Regions from separate parts of the Homo sapiens genome. Here regions 1 and 3 are each linked to region 2. Evidence: promoter capture Hi-C in 16 types of primary human blood cells and fetal thymus (Javierre and others, 2016). All regions are on one chromosome and are shown on one strand. Each heading gives the region's core, a stretch centred on a gene start or on the middle of the fragment in contact. The rest is flanking DNA. Distances are from core to core; before and after follow the strand shown. Region 1 holds the start of IFNL2 (interferon lambda 2). Region 2 holds the start of CCNP (cyclin P). Region 3 holds the start of LGALS16 (galectin 16).

Region 1 (3,629 bases), core at 843-3,342, 960 kb after region 2:
CCATAGCCAGGAGGGGGCAGGAACCTTAGTCCTACAGCAGCAAGGAACAGTGATCTGCCAACAATGTGACTGACCCTGGAAAGAGTTTCTCTTCAGAGCTCCCAGTAAGAGCCCAGCAGCAATGCTTGGATTCTAGCCTGTGAGTCCCACAGGAGAGAAACCAGCCAGGGCCAGCGAGCCTCTGACCTGCAGACTCCCAGCTCATCAAGTGTGTCTTTGGAAGATGCTACTTTTAGCGTTGTTATGGCAGCAACACAAAGGAAATACACACCAACAGACACACAGTCCAACGTCATGAGTGTCTTTTCCTTTGTTTATTTCAACAAGGGTTATAAAAAGTAGAAAAATAAACATTTTCCTGGAGGTGAGTTGGATTTACACACACAAATACATAAATAGCGACTGGGTGGCAATAAATTAAGACAAGTGGCTAATTTATAAATAAAATCTCAGGTTGCATGACTGGTGGGAGGGTCAGACACACAGGTCCCCACTGGCAACACAATTCAGGTCTCGCGTGAGGAGGCGGAAGAGGTTGAAGGTGACAGAGGCCTCGAGGCAGCCAGGGGACTCCTGTAGGGAGGAGGGGATGGGTCAGGGGCTGTCTGGGTTCTGGGCTCCCAGTGGCTCCCCAGACCTCAGTCCCTCTCTTCCCGGGTCACTCACCTTTTTTGGGGCCTCCTGGAGCCGGTACAGCCAATGGTGGAGGCGGCCCCGGGTCCTGGGCCCTGCCGTGGGCTGAGGCTGGATCTGTGGGCAGAGGAGGGCGGTGTGTGAGCCGGGGCCTTGGCAAGGGGAAGGACGCTGCTCAGAGCTCACAGACCTGGGTGCCCAGGCCCCAACGACTCACACAGGCCCGGAACTGGGAGAGGATATGGTGCAGGGTGTGAAGGGGCTGGTCCAAGACGTCCACCAGGGCTGGGTCAGTGTCAGCGGTGGCCTCCAGAACCTTCAGCGTCAGGGCCAGCTCAGCCTCCAAAGCCATGGGGCGCTCCCTCACCTGAGGAGAGGTGAGAAAGAGCAGGTGAGGGGGGAGGTGAGGGGAACAGGTTGGGGAGCAGGATAGAGAGGAACAAGTGAAGGTGACAGGCACAGGGGAGAGGGCACAGCCAGTGTGGTCAGGTGGGAGCGGAGGGAAGGGAGAGCAGGTGTGAGGAGAAGAGAGAGAGACAAGGGAGAAAGAGACGGTGAAGGGGCCACTACAGAGCCAGGTGAGTGGGGCTGGGAGAGCAGGGGTGGGCCTGACTCCCCCTCTCACCTGCAGCTGCCTCAGGTCCCAGGTCCTGGGGAAGAGGCGGGAGTGGCACCTGCAGTCCTTCAGCAGAAGCGACTCTTCCTAGACAGCAAAGGCACAGGTTAGCCCCAGCAGGAGGGGTGGAGGTTAGACCATCCTGGTGGGATTGGAGGATGGCTGACAACAGGATAGGGGAGGTTAACTGCTGGGAGGATGGTAGAGGACCCTCTTCTACAGGAAAACATGAGTCAGTCCCTACAGTAGGAGCATGAGATAGCCCACTGCAGGGAGGGTGGAGGCTAGCCCAGTGAAGGAAGCTGGGAGTGGGAAAGCATGGTGACGCTTGGAGTGGGGGTGGAGGCTAGTCCATGGCAGGAGGGCAGGGGGAGACTCACTAAGGCATCTTTGGCCCTCTTAAAGGCCTGCAGCTCCTGTGGAGACAGGGACTTGAACTGGGCTATGTGGCAGCCCCTTGCATCCGGGAGAGCCCCGTGGAGCCTGGCGACAGGAACTGCTCCAGTCACGGTCAGCACTGCGGCCATCAGCACCAGCACTGGCGTGCAGTCCCCAGTCATGTCTGTGTCACAGAGAGAAAGGGAGCTGAGGGGATGGAGAGGCTGCCCACTGAGGGCAGGGGCTGCAGGAGCTGAGCACGGACAGAGATGTGGGACTCACCTAGTTTCATTCCTGATCTCTGGTCTTTGTCAGCAGAAGAAACACTCTGAGGCTGTCACCCAGGGTCTGTTTGGGTCTTGTCTGGAGTCTCTGTTCTTTTCAGTCCCCTCTTCTGGATCTCAGACTGTGTCCTGGCTTTGACTCTTTCTGTCAGTTTTGAGCTCTGTCTGGGATGTAATTCCTGCCTGAGCTCCATGGGGCAGCTTTTATCCCTGACAGAAGGGCAGTCCCAGCTGATGTAGGAAAAGTGAAAACACAGCCTCAGGTAAGACACCGGCCACCAGGGGAGCCCCAGGCTGGGAAAGCCCAGAGCAGGGCAGGGCTAGTGAGCCAGATGAGCAGCTGGAGGGAAAGAGAAACTGATGGAGACTCAGGGGTAACCTACAGGAAGGTATGTTCCCAGGAGGATTCCACCTGCTCTGGTTTTGTTGTTGTTTAAGACAGGGTCTCACTCTGTCACTGGAGTGCAATGGCATGATCACAGCTCACTGCAGCCTCAAACTCCTGGGCTCAAGCCATCCTCCTCACCCAGCCTATTAAAGTGCTGAGATTACAGGCCTGAGCCACCCCTCCTGGCATATATATATATATATATTTTGAGACAGGGTCTTGTTCGGTCACCCAGGCTGGAGTGCAGTGCAAAATCTTGACTAACTGCAACCTCCACCTCCTGGGTTCAAGCGATTCTCTTGCCTTAGCCTCCCAAGTAGCTGAGATTACAGATTTGTGCCACCATTCCCAGCTAATTTTTATGGTTTTAGTAGAGATGACAGTTCACCAATTGGCCAGGCTGGTCTCGAACTCTTGACGTCAAGTGATCTGTCTGTCTTGGCCTCCCAAATTGCTGGGGTTGCAGGCATGAGCCACTGTGCCCAGAGGCCATGATTTCTTTCTTTCTTTCTTTTTTCTTTTTTTTTTGAGATGGAGTCTTGCTCTGTAGCCCAGGCTGGAGTGCAGCAGCGTGATCTCGACTCACTGCAACCTCCACCTCCTTGGTTCAAGGGATTCTTCTGCTTCAGCCTCCCGAGTAGAAAGGACTATAGGCATGCACCACCACGCCCAACTAATTTTTGTATTTTTAGTAGAGACGGGGTTTTGCCATATTGGCCAGGTTGGTCTTGAACTCCTGACCTCGTGATCTGCCTTCTTCGGCCTCCCAAAGTTCTGGGATTATAGGCGTGAGCCACCGCGCCCGGCCAGAGGCATATATGTGTGTGTATATATATATATATATATATATATAGAGAGAGAGAGAGAGAGAGAGAGAGAGAGAGAGCATGAGAGAGAGTGAGTGAGCAAGAGAGATGGAGTCTCGCTCTGTTGCCCAGGCTGGAGTGCAGAGGCACCATCTCAGCTCACTGCAACCTCTGCCTCCTGGGTTCAAGTGATTCTCCTGCCTCAGCCTCTTGAGTAGCTTGGATTACAGGCATGTGCCACCATGCCCAGCTAATTTCTGTATTTTTAGTAGAGACAGGGTTTCACCATGCTGGCCAGGCTAGTCTTGAACTCCTGACCTCATGATCCACCTTCCTCGTCCTCCCAAAGTGCTGGGATTACAGGCATGAGCCTCTGAGCCCAGCCAAGGCCAATATTTCTTAATTGCCCAGGCAAGGAAGGACTCAGGAATATGAGGCTCTGCTCAAGAACTGAGGTGTGACGAAGGACTTGAAGGACACCACGTGGGTGCCGTCTTTCTTAGGGAAGTTCAGGCAGTGGTGAA
Region 2 (3,812 bases), core at 997-3,496:
TGGCTCTCTGCAACCTCTGCCTCCAGGGTTCAAGTGATTCTCCTGTCTCAGCCTCACCAGTAGCTGAGATTACAGGCACCCACCACCACACCCAGCTAATTTTTGTATTTTTAGTAGAGACAGGGTTTCACTATGTTGGCCAGGCTGGTCTCGAACTTACCTCAAGTGATCTGCCTGCCTCACCTTCCCAAAGTGCTGGGATTACAGGCGTGAGCCACTGCGCCTGGCCTAAAAGATATATATATATATATATATTTTTTTTTAAAGCTACTTACGTCTCTCCATTTGCCCGCAAGGAAATTCCTTGTGGACAGAAGACAGGCAGAGTTCAAAGTCATCCCTGTGCTCACATGAGACCAATGCATATCTGATGGCTTCCTCCGTCCTATTGTTTGACCCAGACTAGGCATGGATGGCTCTTCCTGTAAATTGTGCATTCAGTAAAAGGCTAATCAAACTCAAAAGAATGCAGCCGTTTGTCTCCTGTCTATGACCTGGAAGCCCCCTCCCCTGCTTCGAGTTGTCTTGCCTTTCCGGACCGAACCAATGTACAGCTTACACATATTGAGGACGTCTCATGTCTCCATAAAACGTATAAAACCAAGCTGTGCCCCGAATACCTCCTGAGGCCGTGTCACACGCACACCCTTAACTTTGGCAAAATAAGCTTTCTAAATTGATTGACACCTATCTCAGATACCTTTTGGTTTACACAGTTAATAAACATCTTGTGTAGAGACATTTTGTAGATATCCCGATTCCTATCAGATGTTCACCCACTAGTTTGAACATCTATTGATATTTCTTGCATGAAACGATGCTGTGGTGGTTGCCAAATAGGATTTTCCAACCTTCTACATTATTAGTTCGGCCAGTCATGGCGGCCCACACCTGTAATCCTAGCACTTTGGGAAGCCAAGGTGGGAGGATTCCTTGAACCCAGGAGTTCAAAACCAGCCTAGGCAACAAAGTGATACCCCAGTCTCTACAGAAAAATTTAAAAATTAGCCAAGCATGATGGCGCACACCTGTAGTCCTAGCTACTTGGGAGGCTGAGATGGGAGGATCACTTGAGCCTAGGAGGTTGAGGCTGCAGTGAGCCGTGTTCACACCACTGCACTCCAGCCTGGGTGACAGAGCGAGACCCTGTCTGAAAACAAAACACATTTATTAGTTCACTTTCTAAAGATTAGAAGAGCTTTTCTTTCCCACTGCCTGAGTTATATCAGAATAAACTTGTATTTTAATTTTATTCAGTGGTTTGTGATCTATGACTATCATCTTGATGCTCACATTTTCTAGATTTAGCTAGTGACTTCTGCATCTATGTGACTTGCCCTGCTGTTGGGACACTTTCTGCCACACAAAAATATTCCAGATCTTGTACCTTCTCTTGTATGACCCTGGGATCAGCCATTTCTCCAGGTAGCCCTGGTTCCTTTTAGTGGAGAATGGGATGTGGCGGCCAGGGTTTGGATGTTAGGGGTGCTTCTCACTATTGGGGTGTCGCTGCTCTTAAGCTCTCCCAGTGGATTAAGCTAGGAAATACATGTTTGCATACACACCACTTTTTAAAAAAAATTTTTTTTTTTTTGAGACGGAGTCTCGCTCTGTCGCCCAAGCTGGAGTACAGTGGCCCAATCTCGCTCACTGCAAGTTCCGCCTCCAGGGTTCATGCCATTCTCCTGCCTCAGCCTCCTGAGTAGCTGGGACTACAGGCTCCCGGCACCACGCCCAGCTAACTTTTTGTATTTTTAGTGGAGATGGGGTTTCACAGTGTTAGCCAGGATGGTCTCCATCTCCTGACCTCGTGATCCGCCCGCCTCGGCCTCCCAAAGTGCTGGGATTACAGGAGTGAGCCACCACACCCGGCCACACAACACTTAACTTCTATGTAAACAACCATGTGTTCACACAATTTTATCTCCAATTCCATTGCGACACCGACACCACAAGGGTCATTCTAACCTCCGATCTATGTTTGTACATCCATCCTCTGACGGTGCAAACCCTGATTCTACATTTTGAAATCATCCCGACTTTATGGTCAGGAAAGCGAGGCCCAGAGGGGCTGCTTCCGGGCAGCAGGATGAGGATCTGTCTCCAGCTGTCCGACCTTAGAGGGCTTCGAGAGGACAGAGCCAGCCTGCGGGGCACTCACCTTTGTGCACCTGCCCGGGCGAGGCGGGCTCAGTGCGCACGCGCCCAGGGGCCTTTAAAGCGCCCGCCGCGCGTCTCTTCCCCTAGCTGCAAGGGTCGGTGCTTGGCCTCGCCCGCAACACCCTCCTGGAGGATGCTGGTGAGAGGCAGGGACCAGGGGTCCGGCTCCCGGCTCGGGCCTATCGTTAGGCGCTGGGCCCCCAGGCCCTCTCCTTTGCAGAGTCTCGCTGCCTCCCTCGACGCAGAGCCTTCAAGCGCCGCAGTCCCCGACGGCTTCCCCGCGGGCCCCACTGTCTCCCCAAGACGCCTGGCGAGGCCGCCGGGGCTGGAGGAGGCGCTGAGCGCGCTGGGGCTGCAGGGAGAACGCGAGTACGCCGGGGACATCTTCGCCGAAGTCATGGTGAGCCTACCCGCCGCCTGCCCTGGTGAGGGCGACGCCGGCCCACCGCCCGGCACCCACTCAACACCACTCTGAACTCCCACCGCTCCAGCCTCTCCTCCCTATCACTGGCAGCCGGCGTTCCTTCCCTGCAACGTCCAGGCTTTTGTTTTGTTTTCACACAGCGCCGTTTCTACCGCTGGGAATGCCCTTTCCCACCGTCCCCGGGCTCTTTGCAGTCCCTCCTGGGGTGTTTATGGTCCCCTGTACTTGTCCTCCACATTTATTTGTTTAACAAATATTTAATGGTTTAGTAGCAAATGTTTTAGGTGCTGGAGATGCTGCAATGCTGGCCTCGTTCTGGGGAGATGAGCAAACACATAGAACAACTAGGGAAAGGCCACGCAAACCAAAACATTGGCCTCGCCAGCCTTCAGATATCCCTATGAGAGGGTTGCTGCGGAAGGAAGACTGAAGGGAGGAGTTTGTTGAACGTCTTGCCTGCGACTCTCCTGGGCCAGGATCTCTGTTAGGACCTGAGAGACACTTGTGTTGTGGGCAGAAGTCCCTGCCCTCGTGGGACTGGCAGCCTAGCGGCCAAATAGACAAAGCACACAGGGAGACATCTTCACAGTGAAAATGCTGAGACAAAGAGATAGTGATCGGGTGGTAGGAGTATAGACAAAGTCATGGAGATGTTAGCTGAATGACGGAAAGGTCGAGTAAGGGGCTGGGGAAGGACCCTCTCTGTAGAGGAAACAGGAAGTGCAAAGGGCCTGGGGTAGGAATGGGCTTGGTATAGTCTAGGAGCTAAAAAGAAGGCAGCTGTGGCTGACGCATGGGTTGTGGGGAGAGAGAGGGAAGAGGTGATGCTGGAGCAGAGCCTGAAAGAAATCAGAGTTTTCTCCAAGGGTACTGGGAGCCATGGAAGGGTTTTAAGCTGGGGAGTTCCTTGGTCAGATCTTTCTTTGGGAAGATGCTTCTGGGTGCTCTGAGGCAGAGGGGTTGAGGATTCGTGGTCAAGAGTTGAAGTCTGAGGCCGGGTGCAGTGGCTCATACCTGTAATCCCAGCACTTTGGGAGGCTGAGGTGGGCGGATCACCTGAGGTCAGGAGTTCAAGACCAGTCTGGTCAACATGGTGAAACCCCGTCTCTACAAAAATATAAAAATTAGCCGGGCATGGTGCCACATGCCTGTAATCCCAGCTACTAGGGAGGCTGAGGCGGGAGAATCGCTTGAACCCAGGAGGCGGATGTTGCAGTGAGCCAAGATT
Region 3 (3,842 bases), core at 1,010-3,509, 570 kb after region 2:
TGAGTATTCTCCTCCCCTAGGCCCCATGGCTGGCCCACATGCAGTTGCTGCAGGTCTCATGCCTGGTGCTGGAGGGTCTCCAGGACCTGCACCTGCATGGGGCCTCCATCCTGCCAATTAGACATTTCCACATCACCCACACATAAGGTCAAACTCTTAGCAAATATTCTCCTTTCTCCTCCACCCCCTCCATTGGACCATGGAGTACTCACATAGAAGAGTCGATCAGTGTCCCTTTGATTATCACGCAGGAACCAACAGACAAAGACACAGGCAGTTTGTATGGCACCTGCCAGGGTATTGAGAATAAGTGAGAGGTGCAGGGTCAGGTGCAGTCTCCCTTCCTGTAACATATTCCCATGGTGCAGGAGGTTAGAGATCACAGGGCAGGCTCTGTGGACTCTCCCCATTCACTCTACCACAGTCAGGGCCCCACATTCCTGAAGGTATGGTGGACCCATAGGTAAGAGCAAGGGTTCAGGAGCCAAGAAGCCTGGATTCCAGTCCTCATTCTGCCTCTTACTAGCAGTGCAATCTTAGATCGGTTACTTGACTTCCTCAGTTTCCCTAAAACAAGGAGGATTATCATGAATTCCTACTGTGTAGGAAGTTCTCCATAATAGAGCAGTTAATACATGTAAAACTTTTACCCTAATCCCTGGCATGTGTAGGGCCTGTTAGGGGTGACCTAACAGAACAGGGGAGTCCTCCTGAAACACTGATCTGCCTTATTTTCAACTCTCACAATCATCAAGGGCAATGGACGTCCTTCCAAGAAGTGGCACACATTACTGACAGCACAGCCCCAGTACTTGCACAAGTGAAGCCTGTGGGTCAGGGACATAACTGGAGGGAATGATTGATTTCTACAATGACTACAAGTGGTTGATGATTTTTCTGTATTTTTGAGATAGGGTCTTGCTCTGTTGCCCAGGCTGACATGCAGTGGTGCGATCATAGCTCATTGAAACGTTGAACTCCTGGGCTGCAGTGATCCTCACACATCTGCCCCCTCTTGTGTAGCTGGGGCAAAAGGTGCCTGCCACTCTGGCAGTCTGATATTTAAAGTTTTTTAAAGAAAGGGTCTCACTATGATACCCAGACTGGCCTCAAACTTCTGGCCTCAAGTTATCCTCTCATCTTTGTCTCTCAGATTGGTGGGATTATAGCCGTGAGCCAGTGAACCCAGCTGCTTTGTTGATTAATATCCACTGTAAGCTCTGTCTGAACTGAGACTAGACTTGTTCCTTCATGGGTGGAGGAACAAGTTTAGACTCAGTTGAGACATAGCTTACAGTGGATATTTTACGTGATTCAGTCTCTGAAACCATGGCCTCTAATATCCTTCTCTAGCAAACCTCCTGTCCCACAATGAAAAGGACAGGATAGGCTGGGGACAGGGAAGCTGAGCCTGGGAGGCAAGAGACAGTGGTCACTCTGTGCAGACCCCACCTGAGGATCCATCACCCCCATAGTCTCCATTCCTCTTCCCCACTCTTACTGGGAAGAGACATCTACTGATCATACATTCTGCTCTCATAAGTGATCTGAAACAAGTCCTTGGTAACTCACAATCTCCAAGATCCCTACCAGTTAAGCCACCTGGGATCCACATTGCCACACATGAAAAGACACACAGTTCCTTCATCAGAAGTGCTGTTGTGTGGGGAGGAACCTTCACATGCACAGAAGGCCACATGCGTGTTTTCCCTTCAATACTCAGTCACATCCCAGCACACACACCCACAGTCACACAGAGCCATGCCACTCACTGAGTTACACACACCTGCTCACTGCGCACATAAAGATGACCATGCACTGGTCTGGCTGTGCTAACACACACTCACATCACAAAGAGGAAGACAAAGTACAATCACCCCCCTTACACTCACACAAACACCTGCTTGACCTGGTGTGCCATCCACCTCCCACCTAAAGTCACATCATCTCATCAGAGTTCACTCTCATCAGATACCACCTCATGCTCACAGAGGGTTACATTTGTCCAGGATCCACAACCCACATGCTACAAGCATCTCAGATACCCAGCCTCAGTGTTTCTCTTCCACACACCCACAACTCTCAGTAAAGCATTCACAGTAGGAATGCTCATATTTTCATCTCATAAAATACCCCACATCTTTCTTGGTTTTGTGTGACTTGAGATTATTGAAGGCTGTGCCTTTTCAACTCACAGTTAGAAATGACATTGTCCTCTCCTTCTGGGCGACCTTCGGAATTGTGTCCAGTCTTCTGAGTGAATCTCTGAGTTGCAGCACTTAAATGACCCCTTTCAGCTTTGCCCTCTGGCATCATTCCAGATTCCATGCTCCTCCCAGCAAGCTTTCCTTGCAGCATGAGAAAGGGTCAGGTGTCACGAAGAAACTCAGTCACAACCATAACTATTTGCAAGTCTGTGTCTGTAATGCAGCAGAAATGACATTGGGGAAGGTACCAGACTGTGGATTGGGTTACCAGGGAAATGCATAGATAAGGATGATGGAGTGAGGGGTAGTGATTGTAAAGCCCAGCCTTTGTGCCTCTCAAGCCTTTTCTCCACTATGCAGAATCTACCCAGAAGGTGTACATTTTCCCAATTTTGTACAATGGCTAAACAAGAAAAAAAAAGTTGGAGATTTTGGGGGAAACAAGTTAGCCCTAAAAGGTAATTCTTCTCTCTGCCTTTAAATGTTCTGGGAGAGCACTGACCTTGATCCTGAGGAGGATCTGCAGAGAGAAGTAGAGAAATTTCTTGCATGAACCTGCCCCACACTAAGCCACTTGGCTTTGCTAGGTAAGGGCCACTTTCATCTGACTGTCACACACTTGGGCTCTAGCTACACCCTCTGTTGGTGTCCATGTAAATCAAAGTTTGAGGGAGACTGTTTCTTCTGCAGATTCTGGGAGAAAGGTGAGATTTAAAAAAAATTATTATTATACTTTAAGTTCCAGGGTACATGTGCACAATGTGCAGGTTTGTTACACAGGTATACATGTGCCATGTTTGTTTGCTGCACCCATTAACTCGTCATTTACATTATTTATCCTGATGCTATCCATCCCCCTGCCCCCCACCCCATGATAGTCCCCCATGTGTGATGTTCCCTGCCATGTGTCCAAGTGCTCTCATTGTACAATTCCCACCTATGAGTGAGAACATGCGGTATTTGGTTTTCTGTGCTAGTGATAGTTTGTTCAGAATGATGGTTTCCAGCTTCATCCATCTCCCTGCAAAGGACATGAACTCATCCTTTTTTATGGCTGCATAGAATTCCATGGTGTATATGTGCCACATTTTCTTAATTCAGTCTATCATTGAAGGATTTGGTTTGGTTCCAAGTCTTTGCTATTGTGAACAGTGCTGCAATAAACATACGTGTGCATGTGTCTTTATAGTAGCATGATTTATAATCCTTTGGGTATATACCCAGTAATGGGATGCTGGGTCAAATGATATTTCTAGTTCTAGATCCTGGAGGAATGGCCACACTGTCTTCCATAATGGTTGAGCTCGTTTACACTCCCACCAACAGTGTAAAAGCGTTCCTATTTCTCCATATCCTCCCCAGCATCTGTTGTTTCCTGACTTTTTAATGATCGCCATTCTAACTGGTGTGAGATGGTATCTCAATGTAGTTTTGATTTGCATTTCTCTAATGACCAGTGATGATAAGCATTTTTTCCTGTGTTTGTTGGCTGCATAAATGTCTTCTTTTGAGAAGTGTCTGTTCATATCCTTTGCCCACTTTTTGATGGGGTTGTTTGTTTTTTTCTTGTAAATTTGTTTAAGTTCTTTGTAGATTCTGGATATTAGCCCTTTGTCAAATGGGTAGATTGCAAAA

The links. Contacts are between HindIII fragments. The CHiCAGO score rates a contact against its expected background, and 5 or more counts as called.
Region 1: a contact is called between the fragment with the promoter of IFNL2 here and the fragment with the promoter of CCNP in region 2, in 2 of 17 cell types (neutrophils and monocytes). The highest score is 8.7, in neutrophils.
Region 3: a contact is called between the fragment with the promoter of LGALS16 here and the fragment with the promoter of CCNP in region 2, in 4 of 17 cell types (total CD4 T cells, neutrophils, M2 macrophages and 1 more). The highest score is 8.2, in total CD4 T cells.

The regions. Positions count from the first base shown.
Region 1 is chr19:39,266,859-39,270,487 of GRCh38, reverse strand. It overlaps IFNL2 (interferon lambda 2), which reads right to left and starts at 2,092. Exons shown (of 6, transcript NM_172138.2): 1 at 1,910-2,092; 2 at 1,630-1,811; 3 at 1,259-1,336; 4 at 851-1,000; 5 at 667-750; 6 at 300-573. The coding sequence starts at 1,919. The coding sequence ends at 475. The HindIII fragment of the contact is 23,103 bases long and covers 1-3,629 here.
Region 2 is chr19:40,225,123-40,228,934 of GRCh38, reverse strand. It overlaps CCNP (cyclin P), which reads left to right and starts at 2,246. Exons shown (of 5, transcript NM_024877.4): 1 at 2,246-2,560. The coding sequence starts at 2,294. RefSeq lists an enhancer at 1,859-2,412 and a silencer at 2,439-2,558. The HindIII fragment of the contact is 9,498 bases long and covers 670-3,812 here.
Region 3 is chr19:39,654,330-39,658,171 of GRCh38, reverse strand. It overlaps LGALS16 (galectin 16), which reads right to left and starts at 2,259. Exons shown (of 4, transcript NM_001190441.3): 1 at 2,196-2,259; 2 at 213-289. The coding sequence starts at 2,210. The HindIII fragment of the contact is 3,782 bases long and covers 1-2,345 here.